2 separate regions of the Homo sapiens genome follow, and region 1 is linked to region 2. Evidence: promoter capture Hi-C in 16 types of primary human blood cells and fetal thymus (Javierre and others, 2016). All regions are on one chromosome and are shown on one strand. The core of a region is centred on a gene start or on the middle of the fragment in contact, and the rest is flanking DNA. Distances in the headings are between cores, read along the strand shown. Region 1 has its middle 13 kb from the start of THEMIS. Region 2 holds the start of PTPRK-AS1 (PTPRK antisense RNA 1).

Region 1 (2,700 bases), core at 40-2,539, 110 kb before region 2:
ATTTCCAAGCTTCCATATTATTTTAGACCCAGGGATGACTTGTAACCAGAATTGGTCTGAGAAGTGCCATGAGAAACCCAAACCTGTCTTTGAGAATTCTCAAACCTCTTAATCTGGAATATGACCTACTTCTATGGCCTAACTTAAATTATTAATACACATAATACACAACTGAAAAAAGTTTAAAGGTGTTAAGCAAATGTAAGAGGAAAATCTATAATCTTCCTGAAAATATGACAAATTTTGTATACCTGTTTGTATTTTATAATAGTGCCTGTAGGCCAAATGTTGTTTGTTTTGCCTTACAAAGTCCAACTGCTTTCATGTTGAAGTTAAAACCTCCAGATCTTAGCCTGAATTCCAATGCTTCTACCATGAATCTTCTCGTCTAAGCAAAGTGGATGACTTGCTCTTCCAGATCTGTATCCCTAATGCAGTGAGAAAAGATTGTTATGAATTACTTTTCTCAGGGGTCTGACTAGGATATTTTTCCATGCCTGAATGACATCAGTGGCCAAGTGAACGTAATGCTCTGCTGGCCAGATTAGGTCACAGGACCATTACGACATTGGACATGAAATGCCTGGACATAGAGCAGAGCATCAAGTAATCCCTCATAAAAGAGGAAATAGATACTGGATGGAAAAAAAAAGTCTCTTATACTCATCACTTAAGTTCTAGTTCCTTTACCTCTATGAAGCCTTTTCTAATCTTTATATTATTTTCACAATTCTCTCTTCCTTTTCAGTTTCCATTCGCTGAATATTTTTTATGTGTCCATTTGCATGCTTTTTCCTTTGTTCCTGAATTCTACATTTAGGGAAAGGAGATTTGGGTCTACTTTGATTGGATGCACTCAATAGCTCCAAATACCTTCACCAGCACTATGCTAAGAAATGTTTTCAAAAAAAACAAATGAATGGACTTGACATATTTGTTGTATTTAATTGAATAATCTGAACCTGAACCAGGTTAAATTCTACCTACATTCTTACCTTCTCCTCCCCAAGATGACAGAATAGAATCATGACCAGACCTGGACACAGGCCAATGTTAGAGTGTTTGTCTCACTGAGAGATTTCTCCGTTGAAGTAAACTGTAAATTCAGGCTTTTAATCACCAAAGCATTATTTAATCTGTATTTGAAGTAAATATGAACTTCATAAATAAGCTGAATATTTTTCTCTTGTATAACATTTTACAGCTCATGCATTAGAATTCAATCACAAGTACTCTATTTTAGAATACCAGTATTGATTGGAAATGATGATCAAGGACTGTGTGCTTGCTAGAACTTAATTGGGAGAAAATATTGCTCCTAAACTCCTTAGCAAACAGCACATAAAATGGTGGAGGCCAAGTCTTATACAGGTTGAGAATTTATCTGATATGCTTGGGACAAAAAATGATTCAGATTCTTTTAAGATTTTGGAATATTTCCATATACATAATGAAATATCTTGGGGATGGGGCCCAAGTTTAAATACAAAGTTTATTTATGTTTTGTAGACACCTTATACACATAACCTGAATGTAATTTTATACAATATTTTTAATAATTTTGTGCATGAAACAAAGTTTTGAATGAGTTTTGACTTCAACATGAGGCTAGACTTGTAATTTTCCACTGTGTTGTCATGTTGGTGCTCAAAAAGTTTCAGATTTTGGAGCATTTTGGATTTTTGGATTTGCAGATCAGAAATGCTCAACCTGTATTGCTCTCCTGGAAACGCATGTCTGTGAAGATACTAAGAAAAACATAGTTTTTCTTTTTCTTGCCACTTTGTAAATTCCTAAGGGACGATTTCATTATGAAACATAGTCATGTGTCACTTAACAATGAGATATGTTCTGAGAAATGCATCCTCAGGCAATTTCATTGTTGCGTTAATCATAGAGTGTGCTTACACAAACCTAGGTGTGTACTTTTACTGCACACCTAGGCCATCAGGTATAGCCTATTGCTCCTAGGCTACAAGCCTGTATAGCATGTTACTGTCTGAATGATGTAGGCAACTGTAACACAGTGGTGTTTTTGTGTCTAGACATATCTAAACATAGAAAAAGGCACAGTGTAAACATGGTATTATAATCTTAAGGGACTACCATCACATATGTAGTCCATCGTTGACCAAACATTAATATAAGGAATGAAAGGAACTTTCAAATGTATGTAAATGACATTTGCCGCCTTTGTTCCCACTTTACAGTAAAGTTACATGCTTTTCTACAGTAGAGCCAGGAGGTAACTATATAATCTTCATAAAGTTCTATTTTGTTTGAAACAAAGTAATATTACAGATAAAGTGCCAAGTAAAATATTTTATGTGTGCCTGCTATGGTTATCACAACAGTAATTGACCAGAAACACACTTTGACCTGATTTTACACATTACTAGTGAATCTGAAAAGCTGCTACTTATTGATATTGAACCATTTTTAGAATCAAGTTTATATAATTTTAATCTTACACAGATTGAGGTCCCATTGTAACAGTTCGTCATTGATGGATCCATTTTTGTCCTATTTTTAGGAAATTTACTTTTAGAAGAACCACAGAAAACACTTTTGAAGCTTTTACTGGGGTGTGGAAGGAGGTTTATCATACTTCCCCTTTGGAAAAAAAACAAAATTGAAAACAGACATAGAAGCAAAATGATGACAGTATAGTATCATTTTGTTGTTGTTTGTTTGTTTGTT
Region 2 (2,700 bases), core at 20-2,519:
CAGGAACTTAATATACAATTACTGGTATTACTATTAAGGATTAAGAAAGCACTGGCATGCAACATATTATATATTTGACAAGATTACATCATCTTGAAAAAATATAAGAAGTATTCTTTTTGTATAGTACTTTAAGGAGGATATTATTCATTTTATATCATTTTCCTTCTCACTGTGATATGTAGAATATATCACACCAAAATTGTGGTTGACCCAACACTCCAACCAGTGTCCTATTTTATTCACTCTGTATTTCTTAATCTATTCAATAAATATTACTAAATCCATTTGCTGTGCTAGATGCTGAGGGAGGTGTGTGACACAGCCTGTAGTCTAGTAGGGGAGGTAGGCATTAAATAATTAACTCCAGTCAATTTCAGTGCTATATATGAAAAAGACAATTCACTCCTTTTTATGACTTGACTTACAGCTCACAGTGCCCAGAAAACTGGGATTCTTGATAGAATGCGCCACATATATCCTAATTAGCAACAATCACTAGTTTGGCCCCATAATGTACATACCTAACACACACTTTCACAGGCAAGAGAAGAAAATACCTATCATCATATTATGATCAAAGTATTTTGAAGTAAAAATACTTCCTCATTATTTCTTAGAATACTGCATACAGCAATTCCTTTAAAAGCAGACTCTACTAGCATGTTTCCCACTGAACAGAACTGTTTGTCCATTTAACCAAAAGGTATTTATTGCCCGGGAATTCATTAGTTCATTATTTGAAGAAATACGTATATTGGGCAAGAATGTAAATCAGGCTGTTTAGTTATCACATGAAAATGCATAAAACAGTACCCACATTCAAAGAGTTCAAAGAGTCCTTCAGGAAATCAGGTGCCTAAAAGTCAAACTGACCTTTAAAAAAAAAATGTTCATAGCTTCCTCTGTTAAATGAATGATCGTTTCAGAGCTTTCTAAATGCCAAACTCTTTTAATATATTATTTCAATTAGCTTTCACAAGCACTTATGAGGCTTGTTGTATGTTTTTTTTTTCCTTTGAGACAGAGTCTTGCTCTGTCACCGAGTCTGGAGTGCAGTGGAGCCATCTCAGGTTACTGCAACCTTCTCCTGGGTTCAAGCAATTCTCCTACCTCAGCCACCCGAGTAGCTGGGACTACAGGCGTGTGCCACTGTGCCTGACTAATTTTTGTTTTTAGTAGAGACGGGGTTTCACTCTGTTGGCCAAGTTGGTGCGTACTCCTGGCCTCAAGTGATCCGCCCACCTTGGCCTCCCAGAGTGCTGGGATTACAGGCATAAGCCACTGTGCCCAGCTGTATCTTCTTTTACCGATGAGGACACTGACAGGTTGGTATCACCTCTTTCCTAGTCTATATTGCAGCCACTCCCTTATTGAAGTTTCTGACTCCAAGTCCTACTCATCCTAATCTACCTGCAGCTTTTAAGGTGTCATTTTTCTAAAACTTAAATATGATCCTATCATTGTTCTTCTTAATAGCCTACAAAGATTTCAGGGAAAATGAAAATGACGAATATAAATTATACTGCACACACTATTTATAATAATATTTAGCCACTTAAAATTAAAACACATAAAAATGTGGGTAAAGCTCATGGTAAAATAGTAACTACAAATAATTACAAGTCACAATCTTTGCAATTATGAGAAATGTTTAAGTAAGCACCTGATAAAAAAAAGGAAAAAGCAAAAGTGATAACAGTTGCTTAGAATATTGTTTCAGAACACCTTTTAAGGTTACCACACTGTTTTAATTTTTAAAGTGGAAGAGAAAGTGCTTTAGCACTGTTGATAGCTGCCACCCTGCCCTCAAGATAAAGTGAATCTTGAGTCTTACAGCCCTTTCTCATATCTGTATCAACATACATTTTAGCCTAATTTCTTACTAACTCCTCAGTATATTCTTGAACACTGCATTAACTTTCATGTCTAACTGCAAACCTCTGCCCATGCTGTTACCAGTGTGGATATGGTCTCTGGTTTTTCTACCTATTTAAATGTCACTTTGTATGGAATTCTATTTCATGTTTAGGCACACTGCATGAAATTATTACTTCAACTATCAGGTTCTTTCACAATTCACAACTTCTTGAGAGCATGGAACATATCCTATGTATTTTTAGTATTTTCTCAATGCCTAGTGTAAGACATATGGCAGAGAGTAAGTGTGCAACAAAATTGTGTTAATATTCATATTTTTCATAAGTGAAAACAATTTTTTTGTTGATATGATGCTTTGATGGTTTCTGATTTAAGGTTAGGATGTTAAACGGACTCTATTTTTACATGACCATAATTCTACTCCCCAATTCTGTTCCTAAATCTTTAGTGAGCTAAGAATTCAGATTCATGGTAAGGTTAGAATTGTGCTGGACTGCTTGTGACTTCAACTATCCATCTTCCATGGTCAGTTCTTGATCAACTGATACAGTTTGGGTGTTTGTGCCCTCCAAATCTCATGCTGAGATGTATTCCCCAATGCTGGAGATGGGACTTGGTGGGAGGTTTTTGGTTTTGGGGGTTGGCTCTCTCACGAATGCCTTGGTGCCATCCTCACAGTAATGAGTGTTCTTGTGAGATCTGGTTGTTTAAAGAGTGTGGACCTTCCCTCTCCTGTCTCCCTCTCTTGCCAAGTGATACATGGTTCCCCTTCACCTTCTGCCATGATTGTAAGCTCCCTGAGGCCCTCACCAGAAGCAG

Evidence for each region. The method cuts DNA at HindIII sites, captures the fragments that hold promoters and counts their contacts. A CHiCAGO score of 5 or more calls a contact.
Region 1: a fragment that was not itself captured here is called in contact with the fragment with the promoter of PTPRK-AS1 in region 2 in 1 of 17 cell types (total CD8 T cells); the score reaches 5.5 in total CD8 T cells.

The regions. Positions count from the first base shown.
Region 1 is chr6:127,912,570-127,915,269 of GRCh38, forward strand. It overlaps a transcript of THEMIS not described here. Among named protein-coding and RNA genes, the nearest start is that of THEMIS, 13 kb to the left of the region's middle. The HindIII fragment of the contact is 2,565 bases long and covers 8-2,572 here.
Region 2 is chr6:128,026,596-128,029,295 of GRCh38, forward strand. PTPRK-AS1 (PTPRK antisense RNA 1) reads left to right here and starts at 1,270. Exons shown (of 5, transcript NR_125849.1): 1 at 1,270-1,328. The region is part of intron 13 of PTPRK (protein tyrosine phosphatase receptor type K); the gene reads right to left. The HindIII fragment of the contact is 8,791 bases long and covers 1-2,700 here.